Regions from separate parts of the Homo sapiens genome. Here region 1 is linked to region 2. The links are contacts of gene promoters, found by promoter capture Hi-C in human tissues and cell types (Jung and others, 2019). All regions are on one chromosome and are shown on one strand. The core of a region is centred on a gene start or on the middle of the fragment in contact, and the rest is flanking DNA. Distances in the headings are between cores, read along the strand shown. Region 1 overlaps TRPM2 (transient receptor potential cation channel subfamily M member 2). Region 2 holds the start of KRTAP12-4 (keratin associated protein 12-4).

Region 1 (7,640 bases), core at 1,150-3,649, 280 kb before region 2:
TAGCACGATCTCAGCTCATTGCAGCCTCGACCTCTTGGGCTCAGGTGATACTCCTGCCTCCGCCTCCTGAGTTGCTGGGACTAGAGGCGTATGCCACCATGCCAGGCTAATTTTTGTAGAGACAAGGTCTATGTTGTCCAGGCTGGTCTTGAACTCCTGGGCTCAAGTAATCTTCCTGCCTTGGCCTCCCAAAGTGCTGGGATAACAGGCGTGAGCCACCATGCCTGGCTGATTGGCTGTTTTTTTTATTTTTTTGTTTTTTTTTTGGAGTTGGAGTCTTGCTCTGTCACCCAGGCTGGAGTGCAGTGGTGGTGGCGCTATCTCAGCTCACTGCAACCTCTGCCTCCTGAGTTCAAGCAATTCTCCTGCCTCAGCCTCCTGAGTAGCTGGGACTGCAGGCGTGTGCTACCATGCCTGGCTAATTTTTGTATTTTTAGTAGAGACGGGGTTTCACCATGTTGGCCAGGCTGGTCTCGAACTCCTGACCTCAGGTGATCTGCCCGCCTCGGCCTCCCAAAGTGCTGGGATTACAGGCGTGAGCCACCGTGCCCGGCCGGAGGTGTGTTTCTTACAGGGGTGGCTGCAAACCACCAGCAGCAGATGGCAGGTGGGAGGTGAGGGGCATCCTTCCTAGGGACCAGGCTGAGTGTTGGGAGCGAGGAAGCACTCTGCCGCACCTGGGTCCTGAAAGCTGGGAGGAAGAGGGAAAGCAAAATACAAGAATGCAGAGAGGTGCTGAGAACCGCGATCCTGAGACTGGGGCCTGAGGAGGCGGCAGGGACCGGGAGAGGGGCGGGGCCTGCTCCTGTTCCCACCCCACCTGAGCGCGTGGGAACCTCGGTTCCTTACACCTGATGCTGGTTTGAAAGCCCCTGAGTGAGGAGCTCTGCGTTGTTGGGGGCGGGGCATCGCTGAGCCTAGAAGGGCTCAGGCGTCAGGCTCCTGGGTGTCAGGTGCCCCTCAGTGCTGTGGGGCCTGCCCACCCGTGCTCCTTCCCCAGGGGCCTGGATCATCACAGGGGGGTCCCACACCGGCGTCATGAAGCAGGTAGGCGAGGCGGTGCGGGACTTCAGCCTGAGCAGCAGCTACAAGGAAGGCGAGCTCATCACCATCGGAGTCGCCACCTGGGGCACTGTCCACCGCCGCGAGGGCCTGATCCATCCCACGGTGAGTGCGGCCCCCTAGGGAGGGGAGCCTAAGACCAGGGGTGTGGGTGAGGTCTGACTGGGCGCTGTGGGGAGCAGGTGGAGTGTACGGGGGCCGGGGTGTGGGTGACGTCTGACCGGGCGCTGTGGGGAGCAGGCGGAGTGTGCGGGGGCCGGGGTGTGGGTGACGTCTGACCGGGTGCTGCGGGGAGCAGGTGGAGTGTGCGGGGGCCGGGGTGTGGGTGAGTTCTGACCGGGTGCTGCGGGGAGCAGGTGGAGTGTGCGGGGGAGGCGGGGTGTGGGTGACGTCTGACCGGGTGCTGCGGGGAGCAGGTGGAGTGTGCGGGGGAGGCGGGGTGTGGGTGACGTCTGACCGGGTGCTGCGGCGAGCAGGTGGAGTGTGCGGGGGCCGGGGTGTGGGTGAGTTCTGACCGGGTGCTGCGGGGAGCAGGTGGAGTGTGCGGGGGAGGCGGGGTGTGGGTGACGTCTGACCGGGTGCTGCGGGGAGCAGGTGGAGTGTGCGGGGGAGGCGGGGTGTGGGTGACGTCTGACCGGGTGCTGCGGGGAGCAGGTGGAGTGTGCGGGGGCCGGGGTGTGGGTGAGTTCTGACCGGGTGCTGCGGGGAGCAGGTGGAGTGTGCGGGGGAGGCGGGGTGTGGGTGACGTCTGACCGGGTGCTGTGAGGAGCAGGTGGAGTGTGCGGGGGAGGCGGGCACACTCAGGAGATTGGGTGCAACTCCCGGCCCACCCCTGACCCAGGTGACCCCGGACAAACGGCTAACTTGGCTGGACTCTGGTATCTCCCTCAAGGTTGTAAGAGGGGTCCACGTGACAGTCACTCGCTGCGAGGGTTCCGCTAACAGAGCAGAGGGAGGGGGCGTGGCCAGCAGGCAGCTGGGTGGGGCTGAGCCAGGGCGATCCGACCCCGAACCGGAGCTTTTAGCACTTTGAGTCCCTGTACTCAGAGGTCTCCTGCAGCCGGGAATCCCACTGTGCTGTGGTCCCTGGCAGCCAGCACCCACCCCCAGCTTCTCCGTCAAGGTTGAGGACGGAGCACTCCTGCCTCTGATTAACTGGACGCAGGAGAAGCAGTTGCTTTAATCCGGAGCCTTGAGTTGGGACAGATAATGAGTCATTCAACCAGATTTTCCAAGGACACACTAACTTTGGTATGATGCGTGTGTGCCCCTGAATCCACGTGGTCAGGAAAGCCCAGGGAACACTGGCCTGTGACTCACTGAGCAGGTTCCCTTGTTACCCCGAGGGGTGATTTACTCCTCTGACAGTGACACGGACACTGTGCGTCCATTCCCCGGGCGGGCAGAGGACACTCCCAGATGCCCACGAGGGGCCCAGCAAGCACTGGCCAGCCCCAGCCCGGCCTTCGCCTTCCTTTGCGTCAGAATCATGAATGTGTCCGGCGGGGTCGGACTGGACCAGCTGTTGGGCTTTGTTTGCTCTTTTTACGAATTGAAAAACTGAAGCCAGGAGCGGCTGGGTGACGTCCCAGGTCACTCCTTACTTTCCTCCCCACGCTGAGTTCAGACGACTTCCCGTGACACCACTGTTGGTGGCGGAATGGGACTGTGGCTGCTTCCGCTCAGCCACGCTCCCTCTCTGTGGACGGCGGAGGGTGTGTGTCCCAGCCCGGCTGCCGCCCTCCCTTAGGTCTGTCTCCCGGGGCTGCTGTAACCCAGGCTCACAAACCTGGTGGCTTAAAGCAGCAGAAACTTAGTCTATCAGATCTGGAATCCGCGTCGATTGGCCATCATCCAGCCATCGGTGTTGGCGGGGCCACCTCCCTCTAGGGCCTAGGGGAAGAGCATTCCTTGCTGCCTCCAGCGTCTGGGTGCTGATGGCATTCCCTGGCCAGTGGCCACCTCCCTCCAGTCGCTGCCTCCGTGTCCCATGGCCGCCTCCCTCCAGTCTCTGCCTCCGTGTCCCGTGGCCGCCTCCCTCCAGTGTCTGCCTCCGTGTCCCGTGGCCGCCTCCCTCCAGTGTCTGCCTCCGTGTCCCGTGGCCGCCTCCCTCCAGTCTCTGCCTCCGTGTCCCGTGGCCGCCTCCCTCCAGTCTCTGCCTCCGTGTCCCGTGGCCGCCTCCCTCCAGTCTCTGCCTCCGTGTCCCGTGGCCGCCTCCCTCCAGTCTCTGCCTCCGTGTCCCGTGGCCGCCTCCCTCCAGTCTCTGCCTCCGTGTCCCGTGGCCGCCTCCCTCCAGTCTCTGCCTCCGTGTCCCGTGGCCTTCTCTGTGTGCCTGTGTCAAATCTCCCCCAAGAGTTCCGTAAGAACACTCGTGATGGCGTGTAGGTCCCACTAGGGTCATCTAGGGTGATGCCTTCATATCCAGATCTTTAACTGACATCTGCAAAGATGCTTTTCCAAACAAGGAAATGAGGAGCAGCACTTACCGGGTCCATGAGCAGGCCTTGATGTCTTTGGGTGGCCATGATTCAGCCAACTGCGGTCCTCCCTCTGACCTCAAAGATTTCTGTCCACTCCACAGGCAAAATATGTTCACACCATTGCCAGATCTTGGCTGGGTGTGGGGGCTCACACCTGTCATCCCAGCACATTGGGAGGCTGAGATGGGCGGATCACTTGAGGACAAAAGTTCAAGACCAGCTTGGCCAATATGGTGGAAACCCTGTCTTTACTAAAAATACAAAAATTAACTGGGCATAGTGGCAGGCGCCTGTAATCCCAGCTGAGGCAGAAGAATTGCTTGAACCCAGGAGCTGGAGGTTGCAGGGAACCAAGATCATGCCACTGCACTCCAGCCTGGGTGACAGAGCAAGACTCTGTCTAAACTAAACCAAACCAAACCAAACAAAATGATCCCCTCCAACTACAAACCTGTTACAGCAGAAACTCCAAGATCAAAATCTCATGTAAATATCATAAGCTTGGCCGAGTGCGGTGGCTCACACCTGTCATCCCAACACTTTGGGAGGCCAAGGCAGGCATATCACCTGAGGTCAGGAGCTTGAGACCAGCCTGGTCAACATGGAGAAACCCCGTCTCTACAAAAAATTAGCCGGGCATGGTGGTAGGCGACTGTAATCCCAGCTACTGGGAGGCCAAGGCAGGAGAATCGCTTGAACCTGGGAGGCGGAGGTTGCAGCGAGCCAAGGTTGTGCCACTGCACTCCAGCCCAGGTGACAGAGCGAGACACCGTCTCAAGCAAAACAAAACAAACAAACAAAAATATCATCAGCTCAAAAGTCCCAAATGTCATCATTTAAGTCAGGGACGCTGAAGACTCTGGGTCTGATCCATTCTGGGGCAGAATTTCTCTTCATATGTGCACCTGTGAGACCAGAAAACAAGTCACCTATCTCCAAAATACAAGGGAAGAGCAGGTGTAGCATCACAGCTGCAGACACTCTCATTCCCAATGGGGGAACACGGGAGGAACGAAGGCATCACCAGCCCCAGGCAATTCCAAAACCCGGCAGGCAGAATGCACTAGGTGATAAGACCGGGGAGACCCCTCTGTGGCTTGGGCACCCCCTACCCTGCTCTGTGTCCACGGCCCTGCCTTCAGGACGATCCTTTTCCCTGAAGGTTATAGCTTTTAGTCTGCTTGAAGATTTTAAGGAGTCTGACGACCTTTCATTTTATCCCGTCTCTGTCCCTTTCAGTCCAAATTTGCAGTGTTGTTGTTGATATAACATTTGTGAAAACCTTGCAGTCCTCCTTTGAATGCCATAGGAATTTCTGCCAGTAGACAAAAAGGGCTCTGCAGACCTTTCCTGTGATGCTGTCTCCACTCCTGGCTTCTGAGATGGTTGAGTGAATTGCAGTCTCCTTGCCTGGTCTCTTCATCACTAGCAGGAGGTTGTTTAGACACACCCTTGGCCCTCTCTCTTTTTTCTTTTTGTTTTTTTTTTGAGACAGTCTCACTCTGTTGCCCAGGCTGGAGTGCAGTGGTGCGATCTCAGCTCACTGCAACCTCCGCCTCCTGGGTTCAAGTGATTCTCCTGCCTCAGCCTCCTGAGTAGCTAGGTCTACAGGCACCCACCACCATGCCCAGCTAATTTTTGTATTTTTAGTAGAGACAGGGTTTCTCCATGTTGGCCAGGCTGGTCTCGAACTCCTGACCTCAAGTGATCCGCCCGCCTCGGCCCCCCAAAGTGCTGGGATTACAGGTGTGAGCCACTGCGCTTGGCCGTTGGCCTTCTCTTTAGAGTCTGCTTTTCGAACAGTGAATCTCTTTTCATTTTCTGCATTATATGCGACCTGCATTATATGCGACCTGCATTATATGCGACCTGCATTATATGCGACCTGCATTATATGCGACCTGCATTATATGCGACCCGGATAGGCTGAGAATTTCCCACATCATCAAGTCCTGGTTCCATTTTGTCTGTCAGTTTTTCCCTCAATTTCTCTCTTTCCTTTTGCATTTTGTGAGAAGCAGCAAGAAAAAAAAGCCAGGCCACAACTTGAACACTTTGCTTGGAGATCTCTGCGGCTAAATCTTCAAGTTCATCATTTACAGTTCTGCTCTCCACAAAACTGCACAGCACAATTCAGCCAGGCTTTCTGTCACTCTGCAGCAAAGTTGGCCTTCCCTCCAGTCTCCAGTACCACATTTCCCACTTCCTTCTGAGCCCTCACCAGAAGAAGCAACTGTGATGTTCATTTTTCTGCTAAAATTCTGTTCATGCCAGTATATGTATTCTCTCTCTCTCTCTTTTTTTTTTTTTGAGATGGAGCCTTGCTCTTTTGCCCAGGCTGGAGTGCAGTGGTGCGATCTTGGCTCACTGCAACCTCCACCTTCCGGGTTCAAGCAAATCTCCCACCTTAGCCTCCCGAGTAGCTGGGATTACAGGCATGTGCCACCATACCCAGCTAATTTTTGTATTTTTAGTACAGACGGGGTTTCACCATGTTGGCCAGGCTGGTCTCGAACTCCTGACCTCAACTGATCTGCCCACCTTGGCCTCCCAAAGTGCTGGGATTCCAGGCGTGAGCCACCGTGCCTGGCCCGTATATATATTTTCTAAGGCAGCGGTCCCCAGCCTTTTTGGCACCAGGAACTGGTTTCGTGGAAGAGAGTTTTTCCACAGATGGGGGCGGGGTGGTAAGCGGTTGGTTTGGGGATGATTCAAGCACGTTACGTTTATTGTGCACTTTATTTCTATTATTACATTGTAATATATAATGCAGTAATCATACAGCTCACCATAATGTAGGATCAGTGGGAGCCCTGAGCTTGTTTTCCTGCAGCTAGACGGTCCCATCATCTGGGGGTGATGGGGGACAGTGACAGATCATTAGGCATTAGATTTTCGTAAGGGGAGTACAACCTAGGTCCCTCGCATGCACAGTTCACAGTAAGGTTAGTATTCCCATGAGAATCTAATGCCGCGGATCTGACAGGAGGTGGAGCTCGGACAGTCACACACACGATGGGGAGCGGCTGTAAATAGGGATGAAGCTTCGCTCGTTCACCCACCACCCACCTCCTGCTGTGAGCAGCCCAGATCCTCACAGGCCACAGACCATTACCAGTCCATGGCCCAGGGGGTGGGGGACCCCTGCTCTAGGGCAACAAAGCCCTCTCTGCCCTGCTCCTCACTTCCTTCTGAGCCCTTACTGCGAGTTGTTTTTTTTCTGAGACAGGGTCTCACTGTTGCCCAGGCTGGAGTATGTTGGTGCGATCCTCAGCCTTGACCTCCCGGGCTCAAGTGATCTTCCCATCTCAGCCTCCCAAGTAGCTGGGACTACAGGTGTGCACCACCATGCCCGGCTAATTTTTTCATTTTTGTAGACATGAGATCCGCTATGTCGTCCAGGCTGGTCTCGAACTCCAGGGCTCAGGTGATCCTCCCGCCTTGGCCTCCCAAAGTGCTGGGATTCCAGGCGTGAGCCACCGCGCCCGTCTCCGCAAGGCCTTTAATACCACATTCCCACCAACATTCTCTTCAAGGACGTTGAGACGTTTTCCATTCATGGTGCTTCTAAATCCTCCCGTCGTCTCCCCATTGCCGGTTTCAATGCCACTTCCACATTTTTAGGTGTTTGTTGCAGCAGCAGCCCACTTCCTCACCCCAGACCTGTATCCGTTTCCTGTGGCTGCCGTAACAAATGGCCTCAAGCCTGAAACAGCAGCATTGTGGTCTCTCACGTGTCTGGAGGACAGAACTCTGAAGTCAGGGTCACACGTCTGTTTCCCCGCCTCCTCCACTCCTGGGGGGTCCGGCTTTCTCCACTTGTGGCTATGTCACTTGCCCCTGCCTCTGTGGTCCCTCGGCCTCCTCTCCTGTGTGTGTCCCCCACCACCTCTCTCCTGTAAGGACACCTGTGATGGTATTTTGGGCCCACTCGGATCATCCAAGTTAATCTCATGTTTCGATCACATGTGCAAAGTCGCTTTCTCCAATAAGGCCACGTCCACAGATTCCAGGGACTGGGACCTGGTCTCTGTGAGGGCCGGTGTTCAGCCTGCTCGCGTTAGAGAGGCAGAGCTTTCCAGAAGCAGTGTCTGACGC
Region 2 (7,875 bases), core at 62-2,561:
CTGCATATGAACTGTGAGCTGAAACCCGGGGCGGAGCCTCTGACAGGGCTGCCCCCGGGCTGGTGTGAGCTGAAACACGGAGCCGGAATCTCTGACAGAGCTGCCCCCGGCTAGAAACCTCACTCTTCTATAGTCCTCGGTAAAACTTCTGAGTAAAGCTCACTTTAATTCCTTAAAAGCTTTTTTTATCAACACCACAAACCTCTTTCCCATCCAGTTGGATGAAGGAGTAGCTATAGATTTAAATTTAGTTTAAGGTTTTAATTTCTTGACAAGAGTGGGTTGCACATACCAGCTAATAAGCAGATGGCCCGTTTTACCTAAAATGGATCAAACTACAAAATTAGTGATTTGTCCTCAATCTCACCCAGAAGAGAGTAAGAACTGACCTCATACATTTAAGGAACAAAGTGGGACGAAGGAAGCCTGATGTGACTGGGGTTGGGGGTTCCCATCAGGCCAAGCTCAGGAGCACGGCCCACTAGCCCGAGAGGGTGCTGTTGAGAGGCCGCTCACCAGGCCTAACATTCATCTGGTACCTGCCCCTTCTCTGCAGGGAAGGAGCTTTCCAGAATCCTGGGGAAGGTACCTCCTGAGGAAGGAGTGTGGGAAAGACACTGAGGAGAAGGCATCACACAGACTCAGGTGAGCACTCAGCATCTGGTATTTATGATATTTGCAAGAGACCTAACATCAGACAGTGCGGAGGGCCCTGTGGATGGCCCAGGCTGTGAACCCAGGAGAAACTGTGTAGAAAGGCGCATGGCCTCACCGGCTGGGATCTAGTGACGGTGCCGCAAAGGAGGCAGGCGGTCTAGTCAGGTGACGACAGTTTGCTGTGGGAGGATGTGGGGACTGCCTGGCAGGAGTTCAGAGAGCCTGCTGGCTTCTGACCTCGCACCTACGAGGGTCATAGGAGGCCACCTGCTCAGCAGCCAGTGGGGGTGCTCCAGGTGACAGGTCTATAGACCAGGGTGGGGCAGAAGGGCTGGCAGCACCCAGAGGTTGGGCAGAAGGAAGCCACACACAAAACAGGCTTGCAGCTCACAGGCACACAGCAGGCCACCTGGCAGGGGCTGGGCACACAGCAGGCTGGCTGGCAGCAGGTGGATACCCCACACAGGGGCCGGCACAGCAGAGCCACACAGGGGGCTGAGCAGCAGCAGGAGGTCCCATAGCCCTCGGGTGGGTAGCAGGTGCTGGGGACACAGCACGGGGAGCCAGGGCAGGCCATTGGGCAGCCCGAAGAGTGGCTGGTGTGGCACATGATGGAGTGTGGACAGGTGGGGGGCGCAGAGGACAGGGCTGGTCTGGAGCCTGCTTCCTTAGGTGGCCTTTATACCCAGGCTACCGGCATCCTGGCAACAAGCCCCCTGGCATCTTCCTCGTGGGTGGTTTTTCCTCCTCTGCCCTGTCTGGTTGATCTTTCTGTGTTTTTCTGTTGAGGTTACTCAGTTCAGGAAACTCTTTCAGCTAGGGGTGCCCTATCATTCAGCAGACCGTGTGTTTCCTGGAAACAGAGCAGGGGTAGCTGGTGAAGGGCTGTCAGTGAGGCCAGGGGCCCACCTCATGGATGTTCAAGGTCCCCCCGTTGTAAATGCCATCTGGAGCTCACACAAGCACAGTCACACTCACTACACCAGGGGCCCCGTTTTGACTGAGAAGCTCAGTCATCATCAGGGTCTTCCCAAGTAACGAGAGCCAAACTACTGGGCTCTATATTGTGGAATAATAATGATGATTATTGAGGTAACAGTAATGCACAGAGGTCTAGCACTGTGCCAGGCTGTGATTATCTCATTCATCTTTGCCAGCATTCGGGGTGGCCGATACCCCATTTTACAGATGTGCAATTTGTAAGTCATAGAGGGTTTGCACAATGGGTGCGTGTCTGCACCACTGCAGAGGTGCAGGGATCTGGACTGCTTAGTTTCACTCTGGGATCCATGGTCGTTACCACTGTGCCAAATTATACTAGGGCTTGAAGGTTCAATAAGTGACTCATCCTGAAGTCCTGAACCAGCTCGGACAGAGAAGATGGACGAAAACATCAGCCACGTTGGCGTCTGCAGAGCATGGCTCAGGCGTGTGACCACAGTGGGCTTCCTGACACCACACCTCAGAAGTGCCCACTTCCCACGAGTAGCACTAATGGCCACAGGACACCTCCTCTGCAGACGGAGCCCAGGAGGACCCATCACGGAGTCGGGCATGAGCTATTCATATCTGGTTCCTCTCCCTCGCTGTGGGTCTGATCAGTCTCACCCCTGCAGAGGCAGCTTGGGGGAAAGTGAGGAGCTGGTGTGAAATTCCAGGATGCCCCTGAACTTGGGAAGCAGCGGGCAGGAGTGTGGATGACACGCTCCTCCTCACACTCCAGCTCTGTTCTCTTGATGGATTGGCCACAGCGCTTTATTCTACGGTGGTGTCACACGGTGGGGGATGAGCCATCTCTCAGGGCAGAGCTACTCTGTCCATCCCAGGCAGCTCCCAGGGGCACCCTCTGCTCCTGTGTGGGTCCTTCTGTGCCTGCTGGTGGTGGATATGGGTGATTCCTGCCAAGAAGCCTTCAGACAAGTCAGACACCACATTAATGAAATCCCCTCCAAGGCTGAAGACCAAGTGGGGTCTCAGAGCTGTGGACAGAACTTAGAAGTCTATGGACCCAGAGCCGATCTGTGGCCATGTGGGAGTCACCTTAAGGCCTAGGGACAAGCCGGGCGAGGCCACAAGTTCACAGGCAACTCCTTTCACTGCTATAGTTCAGAATCACACTTAAAAACCAAGAGAATTGGGGCAGCCACAGTGATTGTGAGCTAGTCACCAAGTAATCCATTTTAAAAGTTGGTTGTCTTACGAGTCGATTACAGAAGAACAAGGATGCGTCTTTGATATTTATCTGCTCCTTTACCTTCCCCTGTTCCTCCTACTCCTTCCTGCAGGTCAGGGCCCACCTGGCCTCGTCCTAGTCAACCTAAAGGACATCCGTGCACGTCACCTGCAGTGCACATCTGCAGGGGAGGATTTCTCCCAGCTTTTGCTCTTCTGAACAGGTTTTTACCTCAACATGTTTTGAAGGATTTTTTTCATAGGTATAGAATTCTGGGTTGGCAAATTTTTTTTGAGCATTTTAAAGAAGTTGTTCCATTGTCTTCTGGCCTCCACTGTTTTTGCTGAGAAGTGAGGGATTTTCTCATCCTTGCAAGAACCTTATACCTTGTATGAGAAGTGTCTTTTTTTTCCACTGTCTTCAATAATTTTTTGATTTTCATTACTCTTACTATTTGATGCTTGGATATGGTTTTCTTTGTGTTGATCCTCCTAAAGGTTCTGAGATTCTTGGGTCTGTAAGTTGTTATTTTTTAAATCATATTTGGTGCCTTGGGCCATTATTTTTTTGAAACTTATTTATGGTTCAGTATCGCTCTCTTCTCTTTCCAAGGTTCAAACTACTAGTATGTTAGACAGTTCAGTACTGTCTCATATGTCTTTTCATTTTTCTAGATTCTTTCTCCTCTTCTTGAGACAAGATAATTTCTACTGGTGTGTCTTCAGGTTCACTGATTCTTTTTCCATCTGACTCCTAACCCCAAATCCCAGACCCCCCCAGCATGGGATTCTGATGCTTGGTTCTTGGGTCCTCATGATCTGACCAGTTCACCTGCACCCATGGCCCAACACCCAGAGTACAGGATTCCTGCCTCCCCTGGACATACCAGTTTCTGAAGCAGCATCCTCACTCTCTCCATGGCCACATTGTCTCCTCACAGACGCCCCCCAGACCACCCACCAGCACCCCCATTACTATCTCCTGAACCCATTTTCCCCAGCACTCAGCCCTGTATGGAATTATTTCATGCATTCATTTCTTCCTTTACTCATTTATTCATTGCCCACTGCTAGAATGCTCTTGAGGCCAAGACCTCGTTGCTGCTGGTACACAATATATATTTGTTGCATTAACAAATAACTTCTTGTATAGATTACTCTATGGCAGGGTTGGCTAACTTTCTGTAAAGGGCAGACAGCAAATATTTTAGCCTTTGCATGTTACAGTCTCTTCCATAACTATTCAGTTGTGCCACTATAGTGCAAAAGAAGCCACAGACAACACATAAACTAATGACATGCTGTGATCCAATAAGAGTTCATTTGAAAAACAGGCAGTGGGCCAAATGTGGCTCACAGACGATAGTTTGCCAACCTATGCTTTAAAGTTTTACTCTACAAAATTAAAGCTCAAAATACATTATTGCCTCAACATCTTCCTTGATAGCATGAAACAAAAGTGAAACAACGGGATTCGGTACTTTGAGTCGAGCCAGTGGTGCTATGTGCACGGTAGTAGCCTGAAAAAAATTGACAAAAAACCTGCATAACGTCAAACCAGAACATCCTGTTTACAGAAGAAACTAACCTCAAGGCCGAAGCTATTTATGGTGGAGCATGACGCGGGAAAGTACACGCGGGAAAATAAGATGTTGGGAAACACAGTGGAAACAACCACAAGGAAGACAACAGTTGTGTTTTTGTGTTACCCAGATGACAGGACCCAGGTATAAAGACCACCAGAGAAGCAGCTTCCAGACATCACCATCCTCCTCCCCAGTACCAGCCCAGCCACACGCCACCATGTGCCACACCAGCTGCTCCCCAGCCTGCCAGCCAACCTGCTGCATACACAGCCCCTGCCAGGCATCCTGCTATGTGCCCGTGAGCTGCCAGTCCTCCGTGTGCATGCCCGTGAGCTGCACGCGCATTGTGTGCGTGGCTCCCTCCTGCCAGCCCTCCGTGTGCGTGCCCGTGAGCTGCAGGCCCATCATATATGTGACTCCCTCTTGCCAATCTTCGGGGTGCTGCCAGCCCCCCTGCACCACTGCCCTCTGCAGACCCATCTCCTGCAGCACCCCTTCCTGCTGCTGACCAGCTGCTCCTGGTACACGGGGGTACACACCTGTATCCCTCCGTGAATAAGCATCTGGTGGACCCCCAGATTGCACACATAGGGCAGATGAAAAGCATGCCCAAGGAAACCTCTGAACTCTGGGGTGAGAACGTGGAAAAATGATTCAGACCTTCCATGACCCTGGGAACCCCCTCAAGGAAGTCTTGGCTGCCAGAGTCCTTCTCTCACTCCAGCAGGAAACTAAAACCCATGTGAGCCAAATAAATCGGCTGTCCCTATACACCTCGTCTCTCTCTTTTATCTTCATGTATTTCGTAAGTTCTTTCCTTGAAGGTACATACCAACTTCAATGGCAGCAGCACCTCTTCAGAGAGCCACCTTCCTGATGGCTGAGCTGAAGTGGAGGGTCCTTGGTTGGGGGAGTGGCCTGAAGGTTCTGTCCCCCGACTCCCTCCCCAAGCCTTGCACTGTGGGGTAATAAGATGTTGGGAAACACAGTGGAAACCACCATGAGGAAGACAACTCTTGCGTTTTTATGTTACCCAGATGCCTGGGACCCGGGTATAAAGACCACCAGAGAAGAAGCTTCCAGATGGAGCGTGTTGGGGGAGGGTAGAAGAAAACAATCCTCTACCCAGAAGGATGGACAAGAAATAGTCCTGGGCCCCAGATCCCATGCAATACCTCAAAGGATTACTGTGGCAAAGAGGGCAGGAAACTCTTTCAAACAACACCCACCACAAATACAGAGCAGAGTTCGTCTACCCCGGGAGGGGTAGCAGGAAGTCGAAGAAAGTCTCATTCTCCAAGTCCCACATGCAAAGGGCCTGCCTAAGACTGACACTGGACCAGGACAACAGAGAGCCCTCCTTTCTCCAGCTCCAGCCTAGCAGGCACAGCTCAATAAGCAACGTCAGCCTGCCTCTGGGGAAAGGCAGAAGTGTGTAGAGATCTCCTCTGAACGTCAGGCATGCAGGGGCGTGTGAAACTTAGGGTGGAGCAAAAGCGCTGACCTCCCCACCCCTCATCCTAAGCACAAGCACTGATGATACACCCTAAGCACAAGCACTGATACACCCTAAGCACAAGCACTGATACACCCTAAGCACAAGCACTGATACACCCTAAGCACAAGCGGTTGGTGCACTGAAGGTAACCACAGTAACAACAAAACCCAAACCACGGTCAGTGTCTGACCAGATTGACTCATCCACCTCCCCCCACACACTAATGGCCTGACAGGAAAAGAGACGCACGCATTTCCAGAAGGAACTGATGATGTCTGATATTCAATAAAAAATTATAAGATATGCAAAAAAGCAAGGAAAAACCAAGCCATTGTTGGGAGACAAAGAAATCAATAAAACTGGATTCAAAAGTGACCCAGGGGCTGGGCACAGTTCACCCCTGTAACCCCAGCACATTGGGAGGCTGAGGCTGGAGAGTCGTTTGAGCCTGGTGGTTCGAGGCTGCAGTGAGCTGAGATTGCACCACTGCACTCCAGCCTGGGTAAAAGAGCAAGACACTATCTCTAAAAACAGAAAGTAGAAAGTAAAATCACACAGGTGTTAGAGCTATCAGGTATAAACTTTACAATAACTATAATGAATAGATTAAAAGATCAAGAGTAAAGCATTAAAAACATAAATGAACAGATGGGTAATTTCAGCAGAGAAATGGAAACTATAAGAAAGGTCAAGTGGATATGGTAAAAATCAAAATACGGTATCACAGATGGCTTCCTTCAGTGGGTTCATCAGTATACTTGATACAACCAGGTGTGGAAGCTTTGAATTTGAAAACGTGTAAATGTAAATTGACCAAATTAAAACACAAAGAGAAAGAGAAAGAGAAGGGTGGAGGGAGACAAGAGCAAAACATCAAATCCTCATTTATGGATGTAATTGGAGTCCCTCAAAGAGAAGAAAGAGAGGGCAGGGCAGAAGAAATATTTAAAGAGGTAATAGTTGAGAAATATTCTAAAAATAATGAAATACATAAAGTCCCATATCCAAAAAGTTCGGAGAACCCCAAATTGGGTAACTATATCCCCACCACAAATGACTAGACATGTCACATTAAATCTGTGACTGACAAAAACCAAAGGTAAAAAGGGAAATCTTGAAAGCATCAATATTTTAAAAGCAGACTACGAGCATAAGGACAAAGGTAGAGTTTACATCAGACTTCTAATCAGAAATCACAGGACCGAAAGTACATCTTTAAAATACTGAAAGAAAATCCGTCGACCCTATGACACTAAAAGTGTCTTTCAAAAATGAAAGAAAACACTTTTTCAGATGAACAAAAACTGAAAAGACTTCATTAACAGCACACGTGCACTATAAGAAATTCTTAAAAAATTTCTTTGAGCCAAGGAATATGATAGCAGAGAGACACTTGAATCCACACAAAGAAAAGACCACCTCTTGGCTGGGTGCCGTGATTCATGTCTGTAATCCCAGCACTTTGGGAGGCCGAGGTGGGTGGATCACCTGAGGTCAGGAGTTTGAGGCCAGCCTGGCCAACATGGTGAAACCCCATCCCTACTAAAAATACAAAAATCAGCCAGGCATGGTGGTGGGCCCCTGTAATCCCAGCTACTCAGGAGGCTGAGGCAGGAGAATTGCTTGAACCCGGGAGGCAGAGGTTGCAGTGAGCCAAGATCGCACCACTGCACTCTGTCCTGGGAACAAAAAGAAAAGAAAGAAAAGAAGAGCTCTAGAAATTATTTTAAAAGAAGATAAATATAAATAGGCCGGGCGCGGTGGCTCACGCCTGTAATCCCAGCACTTTGGGAGGCCGAGGCAAGCAGATCGAGACCATCCTGGCTAACACGGTGAAACCCGTCTCTACTAAAAATACAAAAAATTAGCCGGGTGTGGTGGCGGGCGCCTGTAGTCCCAGCTACTCGGGAGGCTGCGGCAGGAGAATGGCGTGAACCCCAGAGGCGGAGGCGGAGCCTGCAG

Evidence for each region. Contacts are between HindIII fragments. The study calls those that stand out against the background at their distance.
Region 1: a fragment that was not itself captured here is called in contact with the fragment with the promoter of KRTAP12-4 in region 2 in 1 of the 25 tissues and cell types used here (H1 embryonic stem cells).

What each region holds. Positions count from the first base shown.
Region 1 is chr21:44,368,177-44,375,816 of GRCh38, forward strand. TRPM2 (transient receptor potential cation channel subfamily M member 2) reads left to right here. Exons shown (of 32, transcript NM_003307.4): 5 at 1,001-1,167. Among named protein-coding and RNA genes, the nearest start is that of TRPM2, 18 kb to the left of the region's middle. RefSeq lists an enhancer at 2,008-2,841. The HindIII fragment of the contact is 5,830 bases long and covers 1-5,314 here.
Region 2 is chr21:44,653,348-44,661,222 of GRCh38, forward strand. KRTAP12-4 (keratin associated protein 12-4) reads right to left here and starts at 1,312. Exons shown (of 1, transcript NM_198698.1): 1 at 866-1,312. The coding sequence starts at 1,267. The coding sequence ends at 929. All of the region lies in intron 1 of TSPEAR (thrombospondin type laminin G domain and EAR repeats), which reads right to left. KRTAP12-3 (keratin associated protein 12-3) reads left to right here and starts at 4,585. Exons shown (of 1, transcript NM_198697.2): 1 at 4,585-4,994. The coding sequence starts at 4,633. The coding sequence ends at 4,923. RefSeq lists enhancers at 1,776-2,276, 2,277-2,777, 4,247-5,218. The HindIII fragment of the contact is 6,744 bases long and covers 1-6,092 here.